7 separate regions of the Homo sapiens genome follow, and all the other regions are linked to region 1. Evidence: promoter capture Hi-C in human tissues and cell types (Jung and others, 2019). All regions are on one chromosome and are shown on one strand. Each heading gives the region's core, a stretch centred on a gene start or on the middle of the fragment in contact. The rest is flanking DNA. Distances are from core to core; before and after follow the strand shown. Region 1 holds the start of SEMA6A (semaphorin 6A). Region 2 has its middle 250 kb from the start of LINC00992. Region 3 has its middle 230 kb from the start of LINC00992. Region 4 overlaps LOC124900192. Region 5 overlaps LOC105379138 (a long non-coding RNA gene). Region 6 overlaps LINC00992 (long intergenic non-protein coding RNA 992). Region 7 has its middle 170 kb from the start of LINC00992.

Region 1 (2,700 bases), core at 75-2,574:
GGACACTTATTCGAGCAAACAAAGCCCGGAACCTCTGGTGGCAGCGGCCACAGGAGCCAGGATCTCACCGAGAGACAGGGCGCGCGGGTGCCTAGAGCCATTACAAGTTTCTTGCACTCCACGGAGCCCAGCCCAGACCCCACACTGACAACAAAAGATTCTCTCCGCTTCCACACCGTCTCCGCGGAACCCCTTCTCCCACCTGGCACTGGACGAAAACAGCGCTGTTATACCCAACCCCCTCCAGCCCTCGAGGGCAGAACCCCTTCCCCTGCCTTCGACACACCGGGCCAGGGAGCTTCCGAGAATCCCACCATTTAGGGCCCGCTCTGCTCCCTGCTGGGCACGCGGGAGGATGAGCCTTGGGTCTCGCACACACACCCCCAGGAGGAACAGCCATACGCGCCGTCGCGGCCCGGGGCGGCGCCGGGCGTGTGCGCAACGCGGGTGGGAAAGCTCTCGACGTGGAGCCGGACGCACTCTGGGGCGCAGGGCAGAGAGGAAAGGCAGGCAGGGCTCACGGCTGCTCCCCCAGGACCGGGCAAGGCTCGGGAAACAGAGACACAAGACAAAATAAAACGCAGGCACCACAAAGCCGACAGCACGCGCTAGCCACGGCCCCGGGACCCTCAGGCTGGAGTCCAGCTGCCCGGGAGGTGGGGCGCGCCCGGGCGCCCGGGGCGTACCTTTTCGGTGCATCGACGGACAGGCGGCCGGGGCTCGGAGCGAACTGGTACAGCGTGTATCCCATTTAGTAATCCATTATCGAGGGGATCTCTCCGGGCCGCGGGCTGCGCTCTCTCCTTCGCAAGCCTTTGTCATTCCTACATGTGTGCTTGTCTCTTTGGGGGAAATAGTCGCGGCGACTACTTTCTGGGATGCAAACGCGATGTGTTCATCTCCAATGACGAGCGGAGAAGGGGAGAGGAAAAAAGAAGCCAAAAAAAAAAAGAAGAAAAAGAAAAAGAAAACCAACAAGGAAGAGGGTAAATGTTCAAGAAACTCTTCTCCAAATCCAAATTCCACTTGGATTCCACTTCGGTGAGTCCCCTTGGTGGTGTCTGCGCCGATTAACAAGTCATTTCAGGGCGGGGGGCGGGGTGGGGGCTGGGGCAGGGGTGCAAGGCTCTGGCCCGGCTCTGCGGCCGGCAGCGCGGTGCCGCGGGTGTGGTGATGCTGGCCGCTGCTACACGCTGCTAAGCGGGCATCGCGGGCGACCGGCACCGCGGAGGAGCGCCGCTGCTGGGTTCCGAGCGCCTGGGCAGCCGAGTGCGCGGGGAGCGGAGTTGGCTGCAGCCTCACCCCGTGCCGCTCACTACTCCTCTGTCACCGGAGAGGCCGCCGCTCCCGGGCGGAGCCAAGTCCCGGACTGGATTGCGCAGATCGGACTCTCCTTCCGCAACTCCGCCTACTTTGGCTGGCGTCTCCTCCGACCCAAAGGAGAGCTGTGGTGTATGTGAGTGCGAGTGAGCGAGGCAGAGGCGGAGAAACTACGCGGTGTGGCTGCAGGTGGAGCCTTGGACCAACTGGCCAGCGCCGCTTCCTTCCACCAGGATTCCTGGCCCCACCGCGCGCTAGGCGGAGGCTCAGCGGGGGCGACTCTGGCTGGAGCCCAGCCCTCACCTCCCCCACCCCCACATCTGCTCTAGCTAGGAAAAAAAAAAAGAAAAAAAAAATCCCGGACAGCATTGCTGAGTCCTGCCAAATCAGAAAAATAAATAAAAATAGACGTAGTGCAGGAGCGAGTTACAAGAAAGGTTTTGTTCATCGATTTTCTTAAATGGAAAAGTTTTAAAGGATGAGGGTAAGTGAACGGCGAGCTTTTCTGATTCTGATTACTGTTATCAAGAGGTAGATTCCAGAAGCGATGGACGCTCTACGTAGTTAGATGAATTGGATAGAAGCCGGTGCGGTTAAAAATACACTTGGAAGATAAGAACACAGCTATTAATTACGCACATACACACGTTAATAAAGCATGTGAAGTAAGCAAATAAACTACAGTGCAGAGAATGGCGTTTTTAACGACGGCGATCTATTTTAAAACTTAATGAAGTTCACATTTTGTGGACTGGTCTTAGAAATAAGTAAACTTCAGAAATAACACGCATACAATTCCAGTGAGAACCCAAAAGGTTTATGGAAGAAGAAAATCGCAACCACTTCCAAGGCGCTATTGTTATGATCACATGAAGAATGGCAGGCACAGCCTTCTTTCACCACTTGAACTTTCAATAGCTACAAAGTCTTGCAGTTACAGGCTTGTGCCAACTCGTCGGGCCACACCACGTTCCCCTCCCCCTGCCGCTGCGCCCCGAAATCAACTGCGCGCCGCGGCTCTTGCTCCCCAAGGGGGCTTCGCAGATGGTACGGATCCTAGTCGCAACCTTTAAACAAAGTAACATCGGGCGGCCCAGCAGTTCTCGGAGAGATATTTACTAGTCATGGAGTTGGCTGAGAAAAGCAAGTGCGGAGATCGGGGTCTCAGTCCCACTTAGGCCGAGTTTCTTTATATTGGAAACTGTACCTGTTCCCTAATTGGGACTAAGACCACTAATAAGTCCACGTTCCCTCTTTGGTCGCTTCTCTAAGTACAGACATCTGCTTAAGAGGCTTCACGAAGAATAAATGCACATGGGTCAACACCCATTCCCCCCGCACCACTACCACCACCTGGAAAAGGTAGGGAGAATGGTAGGA
Region 2 (2,700 bases), core at 27-2,526, 590 kb after region 1:
GTATAACGATAAGAAAGGTGAACACGAAAGAAGGGGTCTATCCCTTTTAATCTGTAAGAATGTAACTTCAAGATCAAAGGAGAGAATGGTACAGACTAAAAATTTCTTTCAAATGAGAGGAGTATAAAATGCATATGAATAAATTCATAGATCATCATATAGAGTTTCCAAATAATTCTTGAAGCAGTTTGCAATTTCCCTGGTTATCTGCAATGATGTGGAATTCAAAATCCTATGTCCCTTACTTTAATATTTATAAGAAATATGTATGGAAGAAGCTTGAAAATACAGGCTGAGAATTGAATCACCAATATTTTCAGACACACATTAAGATTTGAATTAACTGCCTTCCAAATTTACTTGTGATAGAAAATTCTGAGCTGATAGGTATTTCTAAGTTGCTAAAATAACTGTACAGGCAATAAACTTTAGCATTGTTTCCCCTACAGGAAAAATATGCTGAACAGGTTTGATAAAATTTTGTATTGAGAAATAGGGAAGCAGTGGGTCAGGTGGGGAGAAAAAGGGGAAAGGGATGCTGAAGGGAAGAGAGAATTAACACACAGCAGAAGCACTGAAGCTTTAACTTAAATACAAATGATTTTCAGACTGTGTTCTAGAATACAAGGGTGATAGTCATAATTGCCCAGCTGTTTGTTTGGAGAGTTCAGCAGCTGCACATAAGTGACTACATAGATACAGGGTTTTTTGTCTTTTTTTCAATTCTGTGTCACTCTTGGTGGTGGGAGATTTTTGTTTGTTTCTTTTTTTGAGATGGAGTCTCACTCTGTTGTGAGGATGTAGTGCAGTGCTGCGATCTCAGCTCACCGCAACCTCCGCCTCTCGGGTTCAAGTGATTCTCCTGCCCCAGCCTCCTGTGTAGCTGAGATCACAGAAGAGTGCCACCATGCCCAGCTAATGTTTGTATTTTTAGGAGAGATAGGGTTTCACCAGGTTGGCCAGGATGGTCTCAGTCTCTTGACTTGGCCTCCCAAAGTGCTGGGATTACAGGCGTGAGCCACCGTGCCTGCCCTGGGGGATATTATTTTATTCGTGAATGAAGGGAGAAAAAACAATGTTTTTCTCAGAGATTTAGACAAAGCAAAGAAGCAAGAGAATTCAACTCCATCTTATCATCATTTTGTTGAAATATTGATTCAAAAAGCAATTGATTATACTTGCTTCATTAAGAACATTTAGAATATCCCAGAATATGATGTTTTTAGTTGCCTTGAGACATGTAGATTTGGAAAAAAATGTATTTATTTATGAGTACTTTTTCTTCCTGCAGTGAAATAATGAAATAATAAAAATGTAGTCAGATCTGTTTCTTTATTTAAGGCAATCAGTGCTTTATTTCCTATAACCCACAAAGTATTAAAAATTAAGTTATGAATGGGGAGTTGCTTTAATTAAAAAGGAGAATTCAATAGAAATCGCAAAATAACCCTCTTCTCTGAATTTTGGAACTCCATGGCAAACACTTACTATTGGCTAAATGTTACATGAAAGTATAGTAATTAATGTAGAGGCCTGCTCTGTGGCAGATTTTAACATTTCAATTGCCTGAAGATTAGAAGCCTTTATGTTACCATCCAGTTACATTCTGATGTTCTTTCTCACTTGAAAGTTTCTGGATTTACTCCCTTACAATTAAAAAAAAAAAAAATCTTTGGTTAGAACCTGCAATCTAATTTTCTTTCTTTGAATAGCTTTCTATATGTAACTACTAATTTTATACCAACTTAGAATTATTTCTGTCTGTTCTTTTCTTTTCCTCAACTTGCATATAGCTTTGTTTTCACTGATTGTTGAAAGTTATTTTATTACTTAAAAAATAATTTTGGCTGCTTCCACTTTTTTTTCTATTAAAACTATGAATATTTTGGCAAATAAACTAATGGCAGATAACTGTTGAACCCTACTGTGTGTTGGGGATGTTGTTATGTGTTTTAGTTGGAATTATCCCCATTAATTCTCCAACCAGCCTTGGTAGTTTTTATTATGATTTATCCCCATTTTAAAATGAGAAGATTGAGGAGTGGTGATGCTAATTTGAATAAGTCATAGAGTTGGAAGATTGCACAGGTAGGACTCAGATTCTTGTCTTCCCTTCCCTTGGTCAATCTCTGATGTTGGTGTGCCCTATGAATAAGCTCTGTTCAACTTGCCCTGCTTTGTTGGTAATCATGCTCTTGTTTCTTGCTCTAAATAATTATGCGATTCTAAAATTCATTTCTCTAGACCTGACCTCTCCTGAAACTCTAACATAATATATGCATTTGCCTGGTTAGTATCCCTACTTGGATATGAAATAGACATGTCAAACATAACAGGTCAAAACAGAAGTACTGTTTACTAATAAATACCTCATACCGCACAATGAGCTCTGGGTCTTTCCTGTGTAGTCAATATCACACTCTTCCTCCCACTTGCTCAAATAAAAATTATTGAGCTTTTAAAAAAATCATTTTTTAGTCTCATCCCCATATCTAATTAATTAGCAAGCACTATAAATTTTACTCATATATTATATGTAAATGCCCCTCACTTTTCTCCATACCTTGTGTTACTACCCTAGTCCAAGATTTCACACAGTCTAGAGCAAGAGCCTTCAGAAAGGTTTCTCTTATCCTACTCCTGCCCCCATGTAACATAGTCTCAATGCAATAGCTGCAATGATGGTTCTAAAATGGAAAT
Region 3 (2,700 bases), core at 72-2,571, 610 kb after region 1:
CTTCAAAACTTCTATTTGCTTTAAGGGATCAGAAAGAACATTTACATGAGTCATGCAAACTCTCACAGACGTGCTGAGATCTGAAGGCATTAAATGTAAGGAGAGAATACAACACAAGTTCTATAGCACAATTTTGGCATGACATTGATTATCATGCCACAGATTTGAACCTGCTGAGTGTGGGTTGAGCTAGTGAGACCTGTGTGGACAAGCATAAAATGCTGTATCTGCAGAGACAGTTGGATCCATCTGCTGAGTTTATTCATGTAATGACACAGATGTGAAAGTATATGACATTTTGTTCACCTAAAGTGCCAAATCCCCATTCTACTCTTGACAGATCCATGCAGCTTAAAGCTAAGGAACAACTTGAAAGGTCCTAAAGAATACCAGTCTTGAGGCTTCTCTTGGCAGTATTTTAGTCCACATTTCCCCCTGCCTGTAATTACACCTTTTCTTTTTCTTTTTTTCTCTTTTTTAACTTTTTTTTTTTTTTTAAACTAGTGCTGAATTCTCCCATTGGAGAGTTTCTGGCTCTGATTATAGGAGGTTCTCTCTACACAGAGTTGCTCAGCCTCACTCTGTACTGTTTGTCCTTGCAAGTCAGGGAGAACTCAAGCTTTTTATTTCTTCTTCTTCTTCTTTTTCTTCTTCTTCTTCTTATTACCATTATTATTATTGTTATTATTTTGGTTTCTTGTCGGCAAAGATGTTTCTGTGTTGGGGATGAAAGTAATTTTACTTCTTCTAAATGGATGTCAGTATATGTTCATAATTAGCCCAATCACAAGGCATGCCTGGAGAGGAAAACAGCACACAGATATTTGATAGTGTATAAGTACATAATTTGGATTACCTGGAAAAGAATGAGAACAAGTACTTTAAGAGCCAGAACAAAAGTCTACTCTTTAGGTTTCCTCTAGTGTTATTGAAAAAAATGTTTAGTTTATATCCATGTTATTGGAAGGGTAAGTCATGGAATGTCCTCACAACATTCCTCACTTCCAAGCAGGAGCAATGTGTTGGGTGCTGAGGAATCTTCCCCTCTGTGGTACAGCCACCTTTGCCTTTCAATCACCTCCTGTGGTTCCTCTACCATTAATTCAAGCTTTTTAGCTCCTTTGAACAGAATTGCCCTCCACATGTGCTCAGCTCTCTCCTTTGGATTGCAGGTCTCTGGAAGTCTCCAGGCTCCTGAACTTACCCGCCTGCATCAGAACTGATGCACCTCACAGTGCTCCTGGTGCTGCTTCTCTGAGCTTGACAGAAACAGTGCCCTCTGGGGCATATTACAGCAATTCAACTGGACAAGTAGAGAAAAATAAATACCACTTAAGGAGTAGTAAAAAAAAAAAAAAAAAAATGGCTTTCAGTCTTTTTGGAGCTGTATGTTGGAGGAAAAGGATTTATTTTGGGGGCAATCAGGCATGGAGATGGGCTAGAGGTGGAGCAAACAGTGGGTGAGCCTAGACTTGCTTGGCCAACGTTGCTCAGCACACAAGAGAAACAAAGCTGGCTTTGAGAGAAGGTTCGAATCTGTGGATAACATCTTTCTTATTGTTGAAAAGTCATTTCTAGAATGCCAGATTGTCACAAATAGCACTGCAGAAACAGTGGACCTAGGTTGTAAGTACTTTTTAGCCTTCACATCTTCAGTTTGGACAGCTCCTTTCTCTGGCTCAGGAGGAGAAGGCGATGGAATCAAGCCTGCCAAGACAATAAAAGCTTTTCAAGACCATGATCTGTTAGATAAACAATTTTCCTTCTATTCCCCATCCTATAAATGCTGCTCTGACTCTGACTTATTATTGCGTGTATCTAAGAATATAAAATCTTCTATTAATCACAAAGTACTGGAACCTATTCATTTAATTGAACACCCCTTCTCACCCCCAGTACAACTATGTAAAGTAGCAACGTAATGGAAAGAACACAGAACTGAGAAAGATAAGCAGTACTATAGCATTTGTTGCAATCAGTCAGTGAATATTACATTTGCCTTTTAACTCAACATGCACTTTAGATTTAAACTTCTACAAAACTTAGTAGAAGGGCTAATATTTAAAATTTTATTCAAGATGATTCATTGCATTTTTTTAACTTTTGAAGTCTAAGAAAGACCATAATTTTCTGTTCCTAGGTTGTTCCAGCACACTTAGAGAGAGAGAGAGGGAGAGGGAGAGGGAGAGAGAGAATATGTGCAAAATAAAGAATTACTGTATCTGGCATACATCAACATGAAACTTTCCCTTTAGGATTCTCCCTGCATTTGCATAGACACAGTTTATTGAAGTTGCTTTAAAATTATAAGAAGGCAAGTGAATAAAGCCTGTTTGTATAAGGAATGTCGTGTACCACTTTGAGTTGTGATGATCACCTCTTTCACCCATTTTTTATCATCATCCCAAAATGAAGCAATAAAATTGAATTTCTTTAGACTGTGAAGCATTTATACTAGTATTGCTTATAGAAAATGAATACTGATGATGTATAATGTTCAACTTAATCAGGATTAATATGCTGTCTCAAATGATTAAAAGGCAAAAGATGAGCTCAGTTCATTTTAGGTTTGGAGTATTTTAGTCCATATTTTAAAAGTAAGTTGAGTACAGGGCTCGTTTTTTTTGTTTTGTTTTTTAATATACAAAAAGTTCTGGGCTTTTGAAAACTCTGTATATTTAAGTACTATTGTCATTCTGA
Region 4 (2,700 bases), core at 99-2,598, 890 kb after region 1:
AGAAGAAGAGCCTATAGCCTGAATCATTTCAGTGATTAACAATGTTCACTACCAAGACAGTTTTATTTGTTTTTAATCTAAGTTACTAAAAGTAGGTCTATTTCCTTTTGTCTTGTCTTCAGAAAAGATGGAAAACAGCAGGTTACCATCCTCTGCAGAGAAACCACTCATATATTTGAAGACCATCAATAAGCCATCCTCCTCCAGGCTAAACAATCTCTGTCCCTTTAGCCTCTAAAATTGCTCTTGTAGTCCAACATGTTAATCATCTTTGTAGCTCTTCTCTGAACATTATCCTACTCCTATAAGTTGTAGATTGCATAATGCTTTTCTAGGTGAGGATTCAGTACATTTTGTTTTGATTGATTACAAAAAAGAACATTTTTTTAATAGGCAATTTAGTAGAGCTTTACAGTCACATATTTTTCAGAACATTCCCTACTGAAAACTCTTCTATGTGCTCCAAATATGGTTAATATAATGAATTAAATGTGCAAGAGAGAATATCCTATGGCTACTTTTATTACAATTTAAGTATGTAAATTTAGCCACTTAATTATACATCAGAGTACTTTAAATGGATCACTATGACTGAACTCCAGCAACCCAAAATAGAGCCTGGCTGCATTGAGTTTAACTGCTATAATCAACCTGAATTTACAAATCCATAGAAATTTGGTATAATACATATAATGGAGAAAGATGATAAACTGACCCTGAATGGGTCATTATTTTAGAAATGATGTTGCACTATTGTGGTTCTAAACCTATCAATCCCATTTTCTTTTTAGTTGCCCCTGGTGACCAGTCATCTCCATTATGTAGCTATGGCTCGCAGGTAACCTATGGCCAAGAAAAGATAGTAACTATACACATGGAAGCTAATAGGGCCCCCATTTAGTACAGGGATTGTAACCATTAGAAATTCTCCTTTATATAAAGATATGTAACCCTTTTGGTTTTAACCTTTTCCTTTTACACTATTTATCCATACTAGTAGTAGACTAGAAAACTTAAATGCAAATAAATGCTGAAGAGAAGTTGAAATAATATTGAAATTTTTAGAAATTTTAGTCATTCCAAGGAGATGTTACTTGTATTATTTCTAGTCCTTCTCTATTCCTGATACAACATGGGTATTCTAAGCAGTAGATCCTTCTTTAGTGTTAATAGCATGCTCCAAATTATATGGAAAATATAAGGCCTCATCTTTCCACTGCCCATACTTGCCCCCAAGTACAGTGATATTATGAGTAAAGGCCAAGGATATGTATCTAAGAGTGAAAATTTAGGTTAATAAGGAAATTTGGATTTGTGTCTGTTGGATTGTGTGTGTTAGTGTATGTTCTTTTTTTAGGCCATCTTTTTGTACTTATTTTCTCCATTAGAATTGCATTAGCTGGGCTGCTACAACAAGCTAAGCCTGGGTATTTGTACTGCTAGGAAGAAAATGTGTGCCATCAACAGTTTAATTAGGCAACTGGATGGAAAAGAGGAAAAGAATCATTTCCCAGACCTCTTAGAAATGTTTTGTTGAGGGAAAAAGCAGTCAATATAGATATATTGATATACTAATAAAGATACAAATATACTTATTAATCCATCAATCAGTCTATCTATTTATCTATCTATTTTCTGAGCTATCACAAGGAATTGGTTTACATGATTGTGGGGAAGTAATTTGAATCCACAGGGCAAGAAGTCAGGAAGTGAAGATCACAAGCAGACTGAAACTCTGAAGCTTCATGATGAAGCTGTTGTCACAGGTAATGAGGAAGGGAAGGTTCTATAAAGGAAAAACAAAGTGTAGACCAAAAATATCAGAGCATGGCTAAGGACAGTGCCTAAGTCTTTTTAAAAAGGCTTCCACTGATTAGGTCAGGCTCATGAGGATAGACCCTGTACTTTATTTAATTACAATTTTAATTACATCAGCAAAATACCTTCACAGCCAGCACTTAAGTTAGCATTTGATTGAAAGACTGGAAGAAGATGTATGTATGCTACAAAATGGCTGCTGTAGTTCCTTCTGCCCTCATATTTTATGTTGCCAATTTGACACCTTAAAAAAGTCATCATAGACAGGTCTGGATGTTTTTCCCAGACATTTTTCTCAGTGGGCGTCTATCAGGGATTCCTCTGATCATTGCAGTTGTGAGAACAGAATTCAGAGGTCTGAATCGTGATCTTTTGCAGGCAAGTCTGTAGATCAAACTATTATACCTAGATGCTAAATTAAAAACAAAATGAAAAGCAAAAAATCCCTCAAAAATCGATGATGGCATAAAATTTGAGAACTAGAAGAAATCGTATACATTACTGTGCTTATTTTCTCATTGTTATAGTGCTAGTTAGTAACAGAGTCACATCGAATGGCCTAATCATATCATATCTTAATAACACTTAAAGACACTACTCCATGATAGTTACCTGTGGAAACCAAGGAAAAGGGAGGCTAAATAACTTCCCAAGTTACTGTTAGTAAGGGAGGTAGGATTCAACATAGATGGCCTAATTTCCAAGGCTGTTTTTAACCTGCGTGCTCTACTACATATCCCAGACTAGAATACACATATCACAACTGCTGGCCACATAGTGTATTTTTTTCTAGTAGTTTCTCATTTAGTATGGAAAAATCATCTCAAATTACTTTTATCATTTGGCAGGTAGGAAAATCCATTATCTAATGGCTTTTTTTCT
Region 5 (2,700 bases), core at 60-2,559, 700 kb after region 1:
AAATGAACACTAAGAGGAAAATGAACTGAGATAAAGCCAAGACAAAGAGAGAAAGATACCTTTGAAAGAAAAATCAGATTTGTGCTCTTTCTAATCCACAGACAGCCAAGAAATGGAAGATTGTGCTTGTGTGTCTGAGAAGAGGGTATAATTCACAAGAATCTGGTTCTAGCATGCATTTGTATTATAGCATGTATCAAGACGCACACTTTCAATTTTTTTCTCTGCAAATGTTTGTAAGGCTGAGCATTTGTACCATAAGAAAATGTAGTCTGTTTTTCATTTTTCTTCTTGAGTTGTATTTAAATAGCATGTTCATATTTTATGACCTCTAATCGGAAGGGAATTTAAGCTACTTTGTCTATTCATATTATTCTGGGGCATTTTACACTCAGGGCTGCAAATTGTATACTTAAAATCTTTTATTGGAAAAGATGTCGTCCTTTGTTTATGAGTGCATCAATGATTATAGAAACAGGCAGCTCCATCCCAAAAGGAGTGTGCTGACCAGGATGTATAATTTGTCTCACATGCCCCAAATAGAGTCAAAACATTCATAATTTAAACCTGACTAGATGGAGTTCTCTAGCTGTATTCCATAACAGACCCTCAGAGAAAAGTTCTGAATATGCTCTCAAGTCCCATAACAACTTGAATGATGATTCCAATTATAGAGATGATGATTCTTATTATAGAGAAATGATGATTCTTATTATAGAGAATAAAAAGTTTTCAATAACCCCCCAAATTTCTTAAGAGACAACCCACAAATGCTTTCTTCATGATATACTATTCCAACAATGGAACGAAAGTTTGACTTTTTCATTGTCTTTTTCAATCATATCAGTATGAATATAATTTGGGTCGAAAATATATATTGACTTTAGATTGTGATATTTGTTTTGCTTTAAAAAACATATTGAACCCAATTCTCCCCATGTGTAAAAGACACCTACATCCAACTACAAGGGCAAAGGTATTATAAACATAAGGATATTTATACTCCAATTTCCCTTCCCTTATTTAAAACTCAATTTAGATTCTCCTAAAAAGCAGCAGAAAAGACTTTACAGCTTAGGTTTACAAAAATGTTTTTCTGTGTACTAAACTAAAGGAAAAATAGGTAAAATAAAATTATAAAACAACACTCAACTTTGATTAGAACATGCTTATTCAGTGACCATGTTTTACACACTATGTGAATGGAGAAAAACCAAGACCTTCGCATTCTACAAAGAGACTCATAGTTAGCTAGACTTAGAATGCAGATTTTATTACTCTCTCCAAGTGGGTCACCAAATTATTCCTTTTAATCACAAACAGTATGCTTCCAAGCTGACCTTACTTGTTACTTCTCTCTCAATCTCTCAGCAATTGAGTGATAGGCCTACCAAACTTCATCTGGTTGAAAGTTCTAAAATATGTTGGGGTTTGTGCCCTGTAGAAATGCAGAATTTTTAGATAAAAGACTTATCTGAATATGTAATGGAAGTGATGTATATACACACAAAACATTACATACGAATTCAGGGGGATTACTGACCCCTAAAACCTGGTCATAGATCCCATTTTGAGGTCCTCTGCTCTAGGGAACCCATGAGGAGTGTTTGTTTACTCTTAGCACAAAGCATCTCATATTGCAATTTTACTCAGAGAAGATGGCAACACTCAGCTTCATCCAGGTAACTCAATACGTTCTTTTACATTAAAAAAGAATGTCTGAGGAAGATGTTAAAACAAGTAAGTATTGTTTGGTTTTTAAACATCTGTCAATATACAAAAAAAAAAAGAAAAAAACAACTCAGTTTAGGAAAGTTTTTGTTGTTGTTGTTCTGTATGTTGTTGGTTCTGCAAAAAAGGAATAACTATAAATTCAGTGGATTATCAGGACATCACCTCCCTCAAGACAGCAGACTTACCAAGGGTCACAAAACAAACATGGAAACAAGCAAATGAACTGGCACTGTGAAAACCAAACATCTTTTATCTTGTCACTAAAATCTAGGTGATTCCTGGAGCACCTAATATGTAACTATGTATTAGTTACAAGTGAAATGCACAACTTCATGTTGAAATGTGGGGAAAGGTTTATTTTTTACTTCGATAACTGTGTCATTGGTTTTGTTAGAGTAGGTAGTTAGGCAGACATGAGCAGGGCAGAACCCTTCCTCCACTCACCACCATGATTATCAGGTGACCATAAGGTGATGGTAAGGTGGTTGTTAAACTGTCTCTCTCTAAAATAATAATTGGATGCAGCCAGCACCAGGGAAAGGCAATCTCCCAATAGATAAAAAACACCAGAAGCTGGTGATCAGCAGCTTTCCGATAAGGTCATAGGAGTTGGGCGAGTGGGCTCAGGCATGTGCACTAAGAGGAAAAATGGCAGTTTAACTGGTATATGACTTCCCTCTGGGAACACTTGACTAGTAAGGGAAATGGCTCAAATGAACATGTGCACAATTTCAGTAAACACACTGCGCATGCAGCCCCTCCCAAGGGTTGACAGGCCACTGTCCATGGGGACAGCCCACCCCAGGGGAAGAATTAGGGGAGAAGAGATGCAAGACCCCAGAAGCATGACAACATGTAAAACCCCAAACCAAAGTGAAACCATGTACTTGAATCTCCCAACTCTCCCACTTGGCCTTCTTCCAAGTATTCTTTACTTCCTTTCATTCCACTCTAAAACTTTTTAAT
Region 6 (2,700 bases), core at 18-2,517, 850 kb after region 1:
AGTATGAGCCACTGCACCTGACCAGACATTATTTTTCTTTATGACTTAGTCTTAGCAGGCTTTGTATTTCCAGGAATTTGCACATTTTTTCTAGGTTATCTAATTTGCTTCTGTAATTGCTCTTGTATTTAACTGTAACAAAATATTTCTTTATTTTGCCTCATGTTTCTATTTAGTGTCCTTAATTTTTCCTTGGAGGAATCCTTTGAGTATTTCTTGCAGAGAAAGTCTACTGGTAATAAACACTCTGAGCTTTTGTTTATCTTGGAATATCTTAATTTCTCTCTCACTTTTGAAGAACACTTTTGTTGGATATAAGATTCTTAGTTCACAGTTTTTTTTTTTCTTTTAGCACTTTGAATATATTAGTTCACTACCTTCTAGTCTCCAAAGACTCTGATGAAAAATTTGCAGACAATCCAATTGAAGATCACTTGTATGTAATGAGTTACTTCCCTCTTGCTGATTCCTATATATTCTTTTTGTCTTTGGTTTTGAAAAATGTGCTTATAATGTGTCTTGGTATGGATCTATTTGAGTTCATCTTACTTGGAGTTCCTTGAGCTTCTTGGATGTTTGTATTTATGTATTTCATCAAACTTAGAAGTTTTAATTCTTCAGATACTGTCTCTTCCTCTTTCTCTATCTCTTCTCTTTTGGGGATTCACATAGTATGCATGTTAGTCCACTTGATGGTATTCCATTGGTCCCTCTGGTACTATTCACTTTTCTTCAAATATTTTTCTCTCTGTTCCTCAGACTCAGTAATTTGCATTTTCCTATTATTGTTTGCTGATCATTTTCTCTGTCCACTCAAATATGCCTTTGAATTCACCTAGTGAATTTGTTATGTCACGTTGTACTTTTCAGGTCTATAATTTTTTGTTTGCTTCTCTTTGAAATTTTTTTTGTTGTTAATATTTTTACTGTTGTTGGACTTCCTTCACATCTTTTCTTAGTTCTTTGAGCATCTTTAAGATAGGTGGTTTAAAGTCTTTGTCTAGTAGTTCTGCCATTAGGTCTTTCTCAGGGAGAGTTCTGTTGATAATTATTATTTGAAATTGTGATACCTTCCTGTTTCTTTGTATGCCTTCTTTTTTTATTTTAAAAAAACATTCGAATGTAATAATGTGATAACTTCTGAAATCAGATTTTCCCCCTTCTCCAACATTTTCTGTTTTAGGTTATTGTGTTTGTTTCTTCTTATTATTATAATTTTATAGGCTATTTCTGCATGAACAATTGACCTAAGGTATGGATATATAAAACATATACATAAAAACAGTAAATTATATTGATTGAATTATATTGTTGAATAATGAACCAACCTTGCACCCTTGAGATAGAACTCACTTGTTAATGATGTATTATGTCTTTTATGTATTGTTGGATTCAATACATAAAATTCAATTTGGAGCCAGCAGATGTCATCTCTCGTGTTAATATTTGGTTAGAAATTTCTGTGTCAATGTTCATGAATAATGTCCTTTGCAGGATCTGAACTTAGTTTAAACTACAATTAAAAAATGACCTAGAAACTGTTATTCATCTTATATTTCCTGAAAAAGTTAGTGTAAGACTGTGGAACCAGTTTAAGAATTATCAACAAAAAAATTTGATTTCAGATTGATATCTATCATGGTTTTGTGTTATTTTTTTCTGATCAGTTTTTATTAATTGTATTTTTTAAAGACTTCTGTACTTCATATACTCTGTCAAATTTATCAGTATAAATTATGCATAATACTCTTTATTAATGAATATGATCCAACTAACTTGCACCCTTCAATACTTGTATTTGGGAATTTGTCTTTTTTCTTTTGTGTGTGTGTTAAATCTTGTTAGTAGCCTGTTAATTTTATCAATTATTTAAAAGAATTTTTAGCTTTGTTAATAATCTTTCTAGTATGCATTTTACTTTTATTGCTTTTTGATCTTTTAATTATTACTTTATATTTACTTTGAGATTAATTTGTTCTATTTTCCTTGCTTATTCAGAGAAAACTTAGGCTTTTTTAAAATATTTTTTATTCTAAGCTTCTAAGCACTGTTTTAGCTGCATTCTCTATCATGTGATACCTGTATTTTTATAATTATTCAGTTTGAAATATTTTCTAATTTGCCATTAAATTTTTGTTTGAGTCATGAGCTTTTTAAAGAAGTACTATTCAAATTCTAAATATTTGGGATATTTCTAATAACTTTTTATTATTGGTTTCTCATTGAATTATGTTTTGGTCTAATGATAGTAATATTTCAGTCATTTAAAATGTATTAACGTTTATTTTTATGGCCTAGCATGTGGTATAACTTGGTGAACATTTCATGCACACTTGAGAAGAATATGTATTCTGTAGTTGTTGGATGCTGCATTTGATGAAAGTCAGTTAGGCCAAGGTGATTAATTTTGTGGTTCAAATAATAAATATCTCTATATTCTGTCTGTTTTTGAAATTTCCAGTGTGATTGTGGATTGGTCTCCCTCTTTGGTGTTATCAAATTTTGCTATATGTACAGTGAGGTATTAGCTTCAATTTTGAAAGACAGTTTATTGACTATGGAGTTTGACTTTTTAATTTGTTTATTTAGTTCTTTAAATATACTGTTTCATTGCCTTTTGGTCTCTATTGTATCAAATCACCTTGGTCTCTAATAACCTGTGGGTCCTATATAAAGAATTAGTCTTGTTTTGTCTCTTTT
Region 7 (2,700 bases), core at 88-2,587, 670 kb after region 1:
AAATATTCCTAAGGTATTGTGTTCCACATGCCTCAGGGGCTCACTGGACCCAAAACTCTTGGTACTTTTGGTCTCAAGACTCCTAATTCTGCTTTCAGTAGCCCACATTTTGAAACAAACTCTTTGCTTCTCCTTCTTCCTTTGGGAGAAAAGCAACAGTGACAGTTGTAGTAGCAACAACAAATAGCTCTTTACAATACAAAATAGCAGCTACCATTTTGCAAAAATAGGCTAAAATATCTTTTACTTTTTCATGAAGAGCCTTTAACTGAGAAAATGAAACTCAAGTAGTAATTCAATTATTTATCCCAAGTCAATGCTGATTCATAATCCAACGAATCACAATTTCCAGTGACACAGAAATAGCAGTATGTCTGTCTAAGGTATATATATACTCTGTTGTCCAGAAGTAACTACAGTTGATTCTCATTATTCCTGCATTCTGTATTTGAGAATTCACTCACTTGCTAAAATGTATTTGTAACCCCAGAATCAATACTCCCACTGCTTTTGCCATTATTTGTGGACATGAGCAGGGTGGCAAAAAATTTGAGTTGCCTGACTCATATATTCTCAAGTTAGGGTCAAACAAGGTGACACTACCTCTTTGTTTTAGCTTTCATGGTGTAAACAAGTGTCCTTTTTAATGATCTATGTAATGACACATTTTTTGACGTTTCTTGGTTGGTGATTTCACTATTTAAAATGGTCTTCACACATAGTGCTGAAGTGCTGCCTAGTGTTTCTGAGCTCAAGAAAGCTCAAGATATGCCTTAGGGGGAAAATACATGTGGTAGATGAGCTTCATTGAGGCATGAATTATATTGCTGTTGACCATGAGTTCAATGCTAATGAATCAACAATATATATTAAATGAGGTGCCTATAAACAGAAACACACATAAAACAAGGTTATGCATTGATCAGATGACAAAAAACGTTACGATCAGAGGCTTGCAGGAACCTAACCATGTATTTCTGCTAGAAGCAGTGTTTTAGAACTTGCCGATTCAGTGAGGTGACTTTACAGATCACAACTACTGCAAATAAAAAGAACTGACTGTATAATTCTCTAACTAGAGAATGGATAAAATACATTATAAATATGGAAAGAGGTGATTATTTTTCCCTACTCTTTCAATTAGTAAAAAATCTAATTTGGAGCAAGGGAGTAAAAGAATGTGGACACACCTCTTTTGCAGCCAAATTTAACATCAGGACATAATTCAGAAAACAAGTGGTATAGCAAGCACTGTGCAAACTGTCAAAGATGAAGAACTGTATTAGAATTGGCAAGAAGACAAGGAGGAGGAGAAAGGTGGGGGACAGGAGGTGGAGGAAAAGTGGAGGGAAAGAGAGAAGAGAAAAAAAATACCTAAGAAAATGTAAGTGAAATAAATCAATGTAAAAAAACTAAAGATTGCCAAGCTGATGAAAATGGAAACTGTAGTGCGGCTGGCAAAAGGTCTTATAATGACTGTGCTGTTTAAAGCTTGTGTTTCATTCCATTTTAGAGCAATAAAAGTATGAGAAACAGAGTGTAGTCATAACAATTATATTTAGAGAAAGGAAATTGTCTTAAGATATGCTCTTTAAGTTACCCTTCCAGCTTTTTCCTCACCTCAAAATATTTCAAAGACTTATTTCAGAGAGGGGGCTTGATGCGGGTGAACGGGGCAGACTCAAGGAGCTGTGTTGTGTCTGGGCTTTGTAGGGAGGGAAGCAAGGCACTGCAAGAAAGAACTGAGAAGGCATACTGGAGAGAATGAAGAAGGAGATGGGGAGGAGTCAGTTTGCAAAACTGCTGTGACAACAGCTGCTTGGCATATGAATTCCATTATTTTGTGCATTCTTTTCTAAACCTTGCCACCTATAAGGGACTAGAATCTGCAGACCATTGGGAGCTTTCTATAGAAAAGCTATTCACAGGATCTGGAAGAAAATGAGATAATTTTGTATTTGGTAGTATTTTGATTGTTATAAACTGAAAAGTCCTGCTGTACTTCCTCCCACTCCTCCCCCAACACTGATCCTCCCTTTCAATCCAACTTTTATCCTATTATATAATTTTTACAAAGAAGCCATTGGAGTGTAAAAAGGACCTCTATAAGGGTGGTCTCCTTTCATAACTGAAGCACTGTACCCTTGAACTTAAATGGTTTCTATTAAGTTATATTTGCAATGTCTGCACCATATGAAATAAAGGGCCATTATGATTGTTCAGGTGTGTGAGGCTCTTACTTAAAGAAAGAGGAATTGGCATAATAACTTTTTCATTAATGGTCTTCATGTAGTAGGGTGAATGTAGAAAAGAGTGTTTTATGTTCAATGGACTCAGATTCTAAGGTAACATGAATTAAGGAGGAAAAAATGGCCTGAGGAATTTATACTCAAGATAAAATACAGAAAGGATGAGGAAACTTTTCTAGATTTTGGACTGATATATTTGTGGATTTGAGAAAGGATTTTCCTCTAGTGTGCAACAGCAGGCATTCAGAAGGCACAAAGCATAGTAAGAACCAGAAACATTTGCCATCAAAGAGAATCCAGAGTTTCCCATTGTTAGTTAGGGGTTTCAGACCTGGACTGTCTGCAGCAGGGGCAGGCATTTTAGCTGCCTCAGCCTCTTCACTCTTGGTTGATATGTATTGTCTCTGATCCCTCCCTTTAGTTTTCTTTCTTTCCTGAGCTGCTGTTTGCC

What was found. The method cuts DNA at HindIII sites, captures the fragments that hold promoters and counts their contacts. A contact is called where the count stands out against the background at its distance.
Region 2: a fragment that was not itself captured here is called in contact with the fragment with the promoter of SEMA6A in region 1 in 2 of the 25 tissues and cell types used here (H1 embryonic stem cells and dorsolateral prefrontal cortex).
Region 3: a fragment that was not itself captured here is called in contact with the fragment with the promoter of SEMA6A in region 1 in 3 of the 25 tissues and cell types used here (dorsolateral prefrontal cortex, hippocampus and mesenchymal stem cells).
Region 4: a fragment that was not itself captured here is called in contact with the fragment with the promoter of SEMA6A in region 1 in 1 of the 25 tissues and cell types used here (mesenchymal stem cells).
Region 5: a contact is called between a fragment that was not itself captured here and the fragment with the promoter of SEMA6A in region 1, in 2 of the 25 tissues and cell types used here (dorsolateral prefrontal cortex and heart left ventricle).
Region 6: a fragment that was not itself captured here is called in contact with the fragment with the promoter of SEMA6A in region 1 in 1 of the 25 tissues and cell types used here (dorsolateral prefrontal cortex).
Region 7: a fragment that was not itself captured here is called in contact with the fragment with the promoter of SEMA6A in region 1 in 1 of the 25 tissues and cell types used here (dorsolateral prefrontal cortex).

Annotation. Positions count from the first base shown.
Region 1 is chr5:116,573,499-116,576,198 of GRCh38, forward strand. It overlaps SEMA6A (semaphorin 6A), which reads right to left and starts at 1,325. Exons shown (of 19, transcript NM_020796.5): 1 at 687-1,325. SEMA6A-AS2 (SEMA6A antisense RNA 2) reads left to right here and starts at 920. Exons shown (of 3, transcript NR_147170.1): 1 at 920-1,041. RefSeq lists a silencer at 1,081-1,160. The HindIII fragment of the contact is 11,240 bases long and covers 1-2,700 here.
Region 2 is chr5:117,164,604-117,167,303 of GRCh38, forward strand. No RefSeq gene overlaps it. Among named protein-coding and RNA genes, the nearest start is that of LINC00992, 250 kb to the right of the region's middle. The HindIII fragment of the contact is 4,589 bases long and covers 1-2,700 here.
Region 3 is chr5:117,188,316-117,191,015 of GRCh38, forward strand. No RefSeq gene overlaps it. Among named protein-coding and RNA genes, the nearest start is that of LINC00992, 230 kb to the right of the region's middle. RefSeq lists an enhancer at 916-1,417. The HindIII fragment of the contact is 3,333 bases long and covers 1-2,700 here.
Region 4 is chr5:117,468,045-117,470,744 of GRCh38, forward strand. The region is part of intron 1 of LOC124900192; the gene reads left to right. All of the region lies in intron 2 of LINC00992 (long intergenic non-protein coding RNA 992), which reads left to right. Among named protein-coding and RNA genes, the nearest start is that of LINC00992, 54 kb to the left of the region's middle. The HindIII fragment of the contact is 3,131 bases long and covers 1-2,700 here.
Region 5 is chr5:117,274,136-117,276,835 of GRCh38, forward strand. All of the region lies in intron 2 of LOC105379138 (a long non-coding RNA gene), which reads left to right. Among named protein-coding and RNA genes, the nearest start is that of LINC00992, 140 kb to the right of the region's middle. The HindIII fragment of the contact is 5,193 bases long and covers 1-2,700 here.
Region 6 is chr5:117,421,203-117,423,902 of GRCh38, forward strand. All of the region lies in intron 1 of LINC00992 (long intergenic non-protein coding RNA 992), which reads left to right. Among named protein-coding and RNA genes, the nearest start is that of LINC00992, 7.0 kb to the left of the region's middle. The HindIII fragment of the contact is 6,055 bases long and covers 1-2,700 here.
Region 7 is chr5:117,243,866-117,246,565 of GRCh38, forward strand. No RefSeq gene overlaps it. Among named protein-coding and RNA genes, the nearest start is that of LINC00992, 170 kb to the right of the region's middle. The HindIII fragment of the contact is 4,418 bases long and covers 1-2,700 here.